Linked DNA regions of Homo sapiens: regions 1, 3 and 4 are each linked to region 2. Evidence: promoter capture Hi-C in 16 types of primary human blood cells and fetal thymus (Javierre and others, 2016). All regions are on one chromosome and are shown on one strand. Each heading gives the region's core, a stretch centred on a gene start or on the middle of the fragment in contact. The rest is flanking DNA. Distances are from core to core; before and after follow the strand shown.

Region 1 (2,700 bases), core at 20-2,519, 1.1 Mb before region 2:
TAAAAGACAAAAGATTGTCAGATTAGCGAAAAAACAAAAACTGGGTGGGAATGGGGTAGAAGGAATAGGAGAGGGGGAGTGAAACTTATCTGCATTTACCATTTTTGTGTAACTCTGACTTTTGAAACCATGTTAATGTTTCTTATACATCCCCTTAGTCAACAGGGATGGGGCGGGGGCCTTAAGTCGAATACAAACAGAAACATGAACTTAACTGTATTTCAAATAAATAATATAATCATATTAACGGCATGAAGCCTAAATAACTTTTGAACACAGTATGTTGACTCTTTACCTCTGGCTAAAGACAAAAAGAACTGTAAACACATAACTGGATTCTAGTTTGTAGGTTTCTTTTATACAGTGACATGGGTTAACAGTTGAAAACTATTTTCTCTATATTTTAGGATTGGTCAAATAAGTAAGTACATTGTGAATAATGGGAGCAAGGTTTCTAGGGGAAGGCTGGGATGAATATATGGTTTTTTATAGACGTAGAAATAGATACAGGGTGTTTCTTAGTTTGTCTGCTGAGAAGGCCCAGAAGCAGAGGTGCCAGTAGCAGTGAGCACACCCAGTACCCACATCTTGGTTTCTAAATACCGTTCTCCATGAAGAGGCACCAGATGAAGAGGCACGAGGGCTTCTTGGAAGAATGGCTGACTATAAGCCTGGGGCTGGAAAAATGTAAGATAAGCCTCAGACATACTGTGCTAGAAAGGAAGTGCTCAAAGAAAGATGGGGACATGTCGAGAGTTCACAGGAGTTCCCAAGAGGCACCTACGGGCCAAATCCAGGACATTTTCAAGCATCGAAATATGTAATAATAGTAATGGATTACAAACTATACAATAAAATAAAAATCTATAAGGCCAAACTGATAGGAATGAATACATAAGTAAAAGACAAGGGAAAGCTTTCATTACAGTAGAATGCCAGCTATTAAATGGAGAAGAAGTGATGGAAGTAGAAAATCCGTGTTTGGCAACCCTGTAATAATTGATTTAGGCGAATTTCATGAGAAACAGGAGTTTACATAGTCTCAAAGTATCTCCCTCCACTATACCTATTAATTACAAAGGGGAAAACAGTAACTTTACAAGGGAGAAACCTGGCAGACATCACCGTAACCCAGTGATGCAAAATTAACTGACATCATTAATGGATATCAAATAGATATCATGGTGCACTGAAGGGACACACTATCCTTCTGTGGCATCTCTTTCAAAACCGTATGTCCTGAATCTGATCATAAGGAAAAAACCCAAATTGAGGGATATTCTCCCCACCCCCCCAAAAAAAGGCTTTTATTCTTTAAAAAATGTTAAGGTCATGAGAGGCAAAGAAAGACTGAAGGACTATTAGATTACAGTAGACTAAAGAGCTGTGACAACAAAATGCGACATGGAATCCCAGACTGGAACCTTGGACTAGCAAAAAATTTCTTTTGAAGGAAATTATTTGGATGGTTGGCAAAATTTGAATAAGGCCTGTAGATAGATAGGCCTGTAGAATAGATACTAGTTTTGTATCAATGTTAATTTTATAATTGTTATAATTGTACCATAGTTATTTAAGAGAATGTCCTTGTTTGTAGGGCTACTTGGGAGATACGAAGCTTGCGCCGTTCAGAAAATGAAGGTGTGTGTGTGTGTGTGTGTGTGTGTGTGTGTACAGAGGAGCACCCGTGCAGAGTCCCCTAGTGTCCTCCCCCGTCTCCTACAGAGAAGGCACACCCCTTCCTCCGTCGGCCGGTCAGGCAGCTGTTAGAGGTGGGGCTAGGTTGCAGCTGGTTAGTTTCTGGTCGCCTCTGGTTTCAAACACATTGAGGATGAAGTCCATCCTGTGTATGTTTTAGGCCTGTCCCTCTAGCAGGACTTTGGGATCTAAGCACCACCATCCTTCTGTCTAGGAGAGCAGGGCCTCTCACCTTGTTTTTCTTCTTCAAAAGTATCTTGGCCGGGCACAGTGGCTCATGCCTGTAATCCCAGCACTTTGGGAGGCCAAGGCAGGCGGATCACGAGGTCAGGAGATTGAGACCATCCTGGCTAACATGGTGAAACCCCATCTCTACTAAAAAAATACAAAAAATTAGCCAGGCGTGGTGGCGGGCTCCTGTAGTCCCAGCTACTCAGGAGGCTGAGGCAGGAGAATGGTGTGAACCCGGGAGGCGGAGCTTGCAGTGAGCCGAGATGGTGCCACTGCACTCCAGCCTGGGCAACAGAGCGAGACTCCGTCTCAAAAAAAAAAAAAAAAGTATCTTGGCTGTTCTTGGCCTTCTGAATTTCCATTTAGATTTCAGAATTGACTTGTTAATTTCCACAGCTGAGTAAAAGAATGGCTCCCATATATGGCTGTACATACCTTTATTTTATTTTATTTATTTTGAGACGGAATCTCACTCTGTTGCCCAGGCTGGAGTGCAGTGGTGTGATCTCTGCTCACTGCAATCTCCACCTCCCAGGTTCAAGCGATTCTCCTGCCTCAGCCTCCTGAGTAACAGGGTTTATAGGTGTGCATGCCACCACGCCCGGCTAATTTTATGTATTTTTAGTAGAGACCGGGTTTCACCATGTTGGCCAGGCTGGTCTCAAACTCCTGACCTCAGGTGATCTGTCCATCTTGGCCTCCCAAAGTGCTGGGATGACAGGTGTGAGCCACCGCGCCTGGCCTTGTACATACCTTTAGTTGTGTTGTTTG
Region 2 (2,700 bases), core at 135-2,634:
AGACTCTGTCTCAAAAAATAAAATAAAATAAAAATTTACGTTTGTAATGGTTAAATATGGAGTGGTTATAACTGTTTGGCTGTATATGTAAGGTAGGATTTCTTTCTGTTTTTCTTTTTTTCTTTTGAGACATGTTGTCGCTCTGTCGCCCAGGCTGGAATGCAGTGGCACGATCACAGATCACTGCAGCCTCAACCTCCCGCGCCCAAGCAATCCTCCCACCTCAGTCTCCCAAGTAGCCGGGACAACAGGTGCAGGCCACCATGCCTGGCTAATTTTCTTGTTGTTGTTGTTGTTTGAGACAAAGTGTCACTCTTTCGCCCAGGCTGGAGTACAGTGGTATGATCTCGGCTCGCTACAACCTCTGCCTCCTAAGTTCAAGTGATCCTCTTAGCTCAGCCTCCCAAGTAGCTGGGATTACAGGTGGGCGCCATCTCAAACAACAACAAAAAAATACACTTCCTTGATTAACTCCTTTCTTCGAATTCCCATTAGGACCTCTCTTCGGGCACTGACTGATGAACTTCTACCGCCTCATCTTCTCTGCTAGACTTAGAGTTCCTGAGAGCAGAATAAATGCGGCTTGATCAGTATTTGCCGATTCAACGCAGAGGTGCCCAGGTCATCTCGGCGAGTTGAGCTGTCTAAGACCCCGCGATCGCGCAGGACAGGACCCAGAAGCCAGAGCGCAGGAACTGCTTCCGGCCGGCTCCCGGCTTCCGTCGGGCCCCGCGCCCGCGCTGCATGCTGGGATCTTCAGGTCGGAGGCCGGGGTGAGGCCGACCCACAGGCCGCCTTGCTCCCTCGCGAAGACGCTTATGCCAGTCTCGCCCGTCCCCGCTCCTCCTCAGAGAAAATGCTGCCCCGCAGCACTTACCGGAGCGACCATGAGGGTGACGATTTGAAGCACACACAGGCTTCCCGCCACCTCCTTTAAACCGCCGCTGGCTTGCCAGGGACAGACGGCGCGGTTGGCTCCCCAAAATTCCGACTGATACGCGCCTCGGCGAGCGAAAGCAAACGCGGGATACTCTCGCGTTCCTGATTGGCTGGTTGTGGACACCTCAATTATGACAGAAAGGGGCCGGGCGGGAAAGTTAGCTGTGGCCGGCGGGGATTGGCAGAAGGAACCTGTACTTACTCGTTTTTCCCGGACGTTGGCTGGTGGAGAAGAGAGGGTGGGGAGATGGGGCGCTGGGGGGGGGCGGTGGCGACGCAACTCGTGATTGGCGGATGTGCGTTCCTTAGGTCTCTACGGATTGCGGTTGCTTGGCGTTGATTGGGCAGTCGCGGGAAAACTAAAGTGGGCGGGGGGCCTTTGGGCCCGCCCCGCCGCCGGGGCCTGCTGGCGGAAGGGGAAATGGGGTGGGTGGGGGGTGGGGCAGGCGACGGTGGGGAAGATGGCGTACCAGAGCTTGCGGCTGGAGTACCTGCAGATCCCACCGGTCAGCCGCGCCTACACCACTGCCTGCGTCCTCACCACCGCCGCCGTGGTGAGCAGCTGCAGTGCCACCTTCTCATTATCTGGGCTGGATATGACTGGGTCTTCAGGAAACTGGGGTTTGGGCCTCGGGGAGGCCCAGAGGGGCTGGTCCCGGGGATGGGTGGAGGCGTACAGGGATTACTCTGGGGTTCGAGTTGGCGCCAAGAATGCTTATCCAGTGACGCGAGAAGGGAGTGCTGCTTCATGGGGGGTCAGGTCAGTTTCTAAGAGATGAGCGCCGGACCTATAGCGGGTTAGGGTTGCGGGAGCCTCCCACCCAAGAAATGTGTCCGAGAGCTCTGCCAATGGCCAGGTGGTACCATGGTGACTAGTGAGAGGAAGGTCCGTTTAGTGAAGAAACAGGAATGGGGAAAGCAAGCTGGAAACTGTCGAGAGGGGAATGGCTTATAATAAAAAGGGTCTCTGGATCTAAATAAGGGGCTAGCTGGAGGTACCCAGCCCTAACGGTGGCAGGGTCTCCAGTCTCCGTTATTTCAAGTGAGTTTTGTTGTTTCATACAGCTGTTTCAGGTGGTGCCCATGTGGTGGGTAGATTCATAGCAGCTGTTTTTATTTGTCCTGTGTCTAAAATATCACCACCTGTCTGCCTCATTTCTTCATGTCAGCCTCAACTATTGCAACATAAAACAGACTTTTTTGTGTTAGGTATTGAGGATACAAAGAATTCTACCAATCCTAGAGAATTCTTTACCAACCTCTTCCTCTGGCCTAAGAAGAAAGGCTTAAAGGAAATCACGTCTAAGTGACCGAGAGTTGGAAATTGCTAGACCTACTAATTCTTTGTTGTAAATGATGAAATTTTGTTTCTTGATTTGCTTTAAGAAGCTCTTTTTCTATTTCAGCAGTTGGAATTGATCACACCTTTTCAGTTGTACTTCAATCCTGAATTAATCTTTAAACACTTTCAAGTAAGTGGTTCATCACAATAGTGATTAATGCTTCAGTTTCTTCTTTTTCTTACTGTTTAGTAGCAAATCCTGTTATACACTATCCTAAAAAAGAACCCAGTGGGGACCTTTGATTATAAGTTGCCTTGTCAGGATATAAAGCAGTGATTCTGCAGCCTGGTTGGACTTGAGAATCCCTTAGGGAACTTTGAAGAGATTCTCAAGCTCCTCAACAAGTACCAAATCAGAATTTGCAAGGGTAGGAATTAAAATCTGTGTTTTATTTTTAAAGTTCCCTGCATCGTTTTGA
Region 3 (2,700 bases), core at 147-2,646, 1.1 Mb before region 2:
CCAAAGTATACCTTTACTCATCTCATCCAGGCCAGTCAGATCTTACTGTGCCAAATTCGCCACCCACCCATGATCCGGGACTTCAGCCTCATCCCAGGATAGGTGACCACAAAAACATAAGTGAACAGAAAAGCCTGCTAGAAGTCCAGCGACTCCAGAAAGAACTGAGCAGTTGTATCCACAAAATTGAAGAGGTAACTAAAAAAGGTGAGAAAAATTAGATTCTTTACTTCGACCTAAGGCTGTGATTATGGGGTAGTTTAAATGCATTCCTTGAGGACCCTCAACCCCTATAGCAATTTCATTCTTTCCTTCTGTGAGTTGGTTCACTGGAGTGTGAGTACTCAGGACAAGACAGTTAGGCTTGGAGTTTGAACAGTGTCTTGCCCCAGCTCCTCTTTCCAGCGGAGGGACATGAAAGAACTTCTTCACTGTGGCTGCCCTTCAAATGTCCACTGACTGAGGGCCCAGCCTACGAGGTGGCATTAATGTTGGCTGAACCTTAGGTCTTCTGGGACCTGAGTGCAAATTATCCTATAATGTTTTCCCTCTTCTGGGAAAATTATTTTTCAATTTGCTTGAAAAGAGAGCATAATGTATTTATATTATAGGTAAAACCAGTTCTCACTTGGGCAGTATTTAGGTGAGTACACACCAGTGACAAGGGAAGTTGTGGGTATATGTGTAAAGTGAGCACAGGGTAGGAAGGAAGGAATTTAATCATCATATATGGTTTTCTACAGTTCTGCAGTGTTCTCAGGGCCCTTGTATTTCCCTGCTGAGTAGAAGACTGGTTCCACGTGGAGAATTTGGGGTTACCGTAACTAACAAGTAGGGAACCAAGCCCAGCTTTCAGATTGCAAGGGGTATGGAGTTGAGCATCAAAAGAAACCGTTGCACTAGGGTAGTACATAGTCTAGAATTATTTTTTGCATTTTCAATTTAATTAATATATGCATATGTACCTATATGCATCTTATGAAAGAATTTAAGGTACCTTAAGAAATACCTGTGATTGAATAAGATAAAACAAAAATGCACATGAGGATATTGTGGCAAAGGAAACAATAAGGAAAGGAAAAACATTTACTAGGGATGAGTCACAGATTTGCTTCTGAGCTTCCTAGGAGCCAGCTAAAGAGGGAACGTCAAATCACTTGGAGAATTTACAAAGTCTAAGACAGAAAAAAACAATTGTGTAAGGAAAACAATTATTCCACATATTAAGGCCAGAAAGAAATTTCTCCTGTAGGTCTTCTTAAAGAGTGTGTTGTATAATATCATGAACAATTCAAAACCATTCCAGCATAAAAATAACAGAAATGTTGTGGCTTGTTTCTCTTGATATTCCTTAGTGTCAGCCTGTGGCATGGACCCCTACCTACTTTGATTGGAAGCCCTGCGACCAGGGGAACAAAGCCACAAGGCCCACTGCTCTGGTGATCTGGCCTAATACCGGGGAACTGTTAGAACAGAGCTTTCAAAGTCTCTGTGGGGAAGGACTGGGTTGGTTTATTTTATTTACATGAATTTTCAATGTGTCATAAGTCAATACTTTGTGAACTATAATAAAAATGTCACAGTAGCGGCAAACTGCTATGGAAACACGTAAACATATACTTTAAATTTCTGTACTTACCTTTCATGGATTAATAATATTTTGCGATGGCCCCTGGCTGCAGACCCCCTTTGAAGTAGCCCCGAAGGCCCATTTGTGCTTCCCAGTGCTGCTCTGTAGACAGCTGCAGGCGCTGCATGGGAATCATCTGCAGTGAGCCTTCAAACCCCCCACCTAAGCCCGTTCCATTTATGTTCATAGAAGTATGTGAATCCGGATTTTCCCCTACCATGCAGCCCAAACGAGATGAAAGTAATTAGACATATAGGGTCTCTTGAGACTGCATCTGTATCTACAACTCCTGACTTCAGATTTTTGCTTTCTTCAAAACAGCCTTATACTCTTTGCATTGTTTGATGTTTTAAAGAGTAAATATTAAAAATTTGAACTTATAAAATACACTTTTACTAATTGAAGACTCCCTTTTCTTTGATAATTGGAGTATATTGGAGTTTCGTATAAGAATTTGTTTGTATAAGTGTATTTGAAAACCACAGCCTGGAAGGAATAGATAGATTGCATCTTCTTCAAACAGTTTTCCAGAAACAATTTCTTTGAACCAATCTTTTCAAGATATAGAGTACCAGTGTGTACAAGGGTATGCTTCCTGAGAAATACATGAAGACTCTAGACACTCAAATAATTTTGAGACTTGCTATCTTAATATGTTAGAGAAAAGACTTGTCTTTTGAAATCAAGATTAAGGCTGGGCATGGTGGCTCACACCTGTAATCCTAGCACTTTTGGAGGCTGAGGCAGGTGCATCACTTGAGGCCAGGAGTTTGAGACCAGCCTGGCCAACAGGCCAAAACCTTGTCTCTACTAAAGATACAAAAATTAGTTGAGTGTGGTGGTGTGGACCTGTAATCCCAGCTACTCAGGAGGCTGAGGCAGGAGAATCACTTGACCCGGGAGGTGGAGGTTGCTGTGTGAGACTGGTGACAGTGTGAGACTCTGCCTCAGAAAGAAAAAGAAAAAAATGTTTACAATAAGATGCTATCTTAATGTCTCTCTCTCTTTTTTTTAATTCTTCTCTTTTTTAAGACAGTCTCATTTTGTCACCCAGGCTGGAGTGTAGTGGT
Region 4 (2,700 bases), core at 178-2,677, 1.1 Mb before region 2:
TATAGATCTCACCAACACTGTCTTAGCTGCAGGGAGCAATTAGGATAATGTTGATGTTACTGTCTTGTCATCCTCACTCATAGCACATTAGAATGAGAAGCTGCCATTTCACAGGGCTAGAGAGAAGAGGAGCAGGGTCCAGTTAGGTGGAAATAATCTTTAGGGGAATCGGTTGAAGATAAAGGGGAGCTCGTTTGCCGTGAGGCAGTAGTTTTTGAAAACACAATGGAAAGGACCAGGAGGTGGAACAGAAAAAGGAAAGAAGTAAAAAGCAGTCATGTCAGGGGAGAAGGGAGAAGATAGGTGACTACAGGGTTCTGTCTTTGGAGCCATCAGAAGTCAGGGTGAGCAGCTTGGTGGAAGAGAAGCCCCCTAAGATTCCGAATGAGTGTGAAGGAATGGCCGTGCTCATCCATCCACTCTCATTTTCAAGTTAAGGAAACAATGTTTAGAGAATTTAATGTCTTATTCATGTAACAGCCAGACCTAAAATCAGGTCTTCTGACTTCATAATGTGCTTTTTTTGTTTTTATTACTCTATTCTGTTTTCTGTATTTTTGTATACAAGTATTAATATGGAGATTTACATTCAGTTGATAAGCTCAGTGGTTGAAGTTTGTATTACAAACCAAATATACAATGGACTGTCTTTTAGAGTGCATGTGTGGTGGGTAGAGGAGGGTGGGTGAGGCTTCTAGGCTCAACAGTGCTGTTAGGCCTTATAAAGATACGGAGTTGCCTTATAATATGGAATGTAATTAGTGATCCAAATCTATGTATTGTGACAGAGTTTTGTTGACACTCACCCAATATTCTGTAATTGATCACTGTTTCTCATTTAAAATGGTGATGGCTTCTTTGAAGCAAAGGAGAATTTCTGCCCTTTGACACTGTGCCTGAGTGCGGGAGGATCTCACTTTTCTTCACATTCAGCTTCTACTGTAGGGCCCCGTGCTACAGATCACCATTAATTTAATGCTGTTGTCATCTCTGAGCTGGCACCTACTTGGATGAGTCATTGGATACGGAGTGAATGATGACAAAGGTATGCTTTTCCATTTATTTCAGTGCTGCATGGCTAAAGGTGAAAACTAGCCCCAGAGATGCCACAAAAGAGCCTCTCCAGCAAGAAGATCCTCAAGAGGAAAGTCACCTGACAGGTGCTGTTGAGCATGAAGCAGCCAGGTTTGTGCTGGTATTTTTCAGATCTTTGAGAATTAAAGAGCTCCTTTTACATAGACTTGGAAGTGAACCCTTTCTTCTCTTTCCTACATTTAAAGTTGGTTATTTAAAATGTAGATTATTTTTAAAAATAGAATAAATACATAAAATGTAGTTTATTAAACGTTTCAGTCAAACTATATAGCTTATAGTGAGCTCTTCTATTTTTTCTTATTCATTCATAAATTATATATGTGTCAATTATATATCACTTGCTAGTTTTGTATGTGACAGTGTTATGAGCTCTATGGAGACTTTAAAAAGGGCAAATAGGCCATAATCCCAGCCCTTGCTTATTTATAGTCAATAGAGAAGTTATGTAATTAACTATAATTTAAGATAGAACACGGTATGTAACCTAGGAACTGAGAGAGTTTAGAAACGGGGGAGGGTTACTTCTGGCTGCAGAGGTCTAGGCTTCATGGATGGAAATTAAACTAGGACCTGAAGAACAGGCAGGATTTCAATATGGGAGATGAGGTGAGAACATTCCATAAGAAGAGAACAGTGAGAACAGGTTTCTCTGTATTCATTTGGCTGAAATTATTCTTACAGTTATGGGAAAACAAAAATGAAAGCGGTCCATTAAATAATTTGACAATATTCATATATCCTAAACCAAAAGAATCAAAGCACTTTTACATACAGCAGAGTTGTTCACAGTTAACTTTTCCCTTTTGTTTTTATTTGACTTCACCATGCCTATATGGCTCCTGGGGGCTCATTGTTTGTCTCAACTTGAAGATATAGCAATGGTTTTGTTTGAGTCTAATAAGAAACCCCAAGTCTGAGTGATAGCTGGTTTTCTTGAGAACGTTTGAGACAGGTTCTCATTGCGTTGTGCATTAATGTTTTTTGACATGGAACACGTTCTAGAGAGCTTTAGGGGTACGGAGAGATTATGTTACCTACTGAGTAGCTTAATAGAGCCTGGATTGGTGCTCTGCTCTGCAGTGGTCCTGATTTCTGGTCTGTTTCTGTGATGATGACACCCTGCAGTGTCGAGGCAGAATTGGTTTGACTCTTTTGACTGTCTGCTAGGCTCGCTTGGCTTGATGCTGAAACTTCCAAAAGATTGAAGGAACTAGAAGAGTTAAAAGCCAAGGAAATTGACAGCATGCAAAAACAGAGGTAAATATTTGCTTCTGAGTTAGGAAAAGGTAAGCAGGCCTATTCTACATCTCTATACATTAATGATAAATAGAGATTATTTAGGTCTAGCTACACTTCTGCCTCCTTAAAAGACTGAAGTCACTTAAGAAGCCAAGGGGGGAGCCAAGACTGGAGCTCAAGGGAGCCCTGACTCTGCCTTGAGGAGAGTTGGGGTGACTCTTGATACTGTTCTCTAGGCTTGATTGGCTTGATGCTGAAACTTCTAGAAGAACAAAGGAACTGAATGAGCTCAAAGCTGAAGAAATGTATAGACTCCAACAATTGAGGTATGTGTTTGCTTCTTAGGAAGAATAGTGGATGTTTGCC

The links. The method cuts DNA at HindIII sites, captures the fragments that hold promoters and counts their contacts. A CHiCAGO score of 5 or more calls a contact.
Region 1: a fragment that was not itself captured here is called in contact with the fragment with the promoter of DERL2 in region 2 in 1 of 17 cell types (M1 macrophages); the score reaches 5.1 in M1 macrophages.
Region 3: a contact is called between a fragment that was not itself captured here and the fragment with the promoter of DERL2 in region 2, in 2 of 17 cell types (M1 macrophages and M2 macrophages). The highest score is 9.0, in M1 macrophages.
Region 4: a fragment that was not itself captured here is called in contact with the fragment with the promoter of DERL2 in region 2 in 3 of 17 cell types (neutrophils, M2 macrophages and endothelial precursors); the score reaches 7.4 in neutrophils.

The regions. Positions count from the first base shown.
Region 1 is chr17:6,579,873-6,582,572 of GRCh38, reverse strand. All of the region lies in intron 18 of KIAA0753, which reads left to right. Among named protein-coding and RNA genes, the nearest start is that of PITPNM3, 25 kb to the right of the region's middle. The HindIII fragment of the contact is 702 bases long and covers 919-1,620 here.
Region 2 is chr17:5,484,862-5,487,561 of GRCh38, reverse strand. DERL2 (derlin 2) reads left to right here and starts at 1,384. Exons shown (of 7, transcript NM_016041.5): 1 at 1,384-1,493; 2 at 2,346-2,411. The coding sequence starts at 1,401. It overlaps MIS12 (MIS12 kinetochore complex component), which reads right to left and starts at 996. Exons shown (of 3, transcript NM_001258217.2): 1 at 878-996. RefSeq lists enhancers at 377-486, 727-826, 1,447-1,506, 1,547-1,726 and silencers at 1,000-1,167, 1,117-1,276. The HindIII fragment of the contact is 9,497 bases long and covers 1-2,700 here.
Region 3 is chr17:6,625,624-6,628,323 of GRCh38, reverse strand. KIAA0753 reads left to right here. Exons shown (of 19, transcript NM_014804.3): 3 at 1-207. Among named protein-coding and RNA genes, the nearest start is that of KIAA0753, 14 kb to the left of the region's middle. The HindIII fragment of the contact is 4,167 bases long and covers 1-2,700 here.
Region 4 is chr17:6,606,833-6,609,532 of GRCh38, reverse strand. It overlaps KIAA0753, which reads left to right. Exons shown (of 19, transcript NM_014804.3): 10 at 1,069-1,185; 11 at 2,263-2,352; 12 at 2,571-2,660. Among named protein-coding and RNA genes, the nearest start is that of KIAA0753, 33 kb to the left of the region's middle. The HindIII fragment of the contact is 3,434 bases long and covers 1-2,700 here.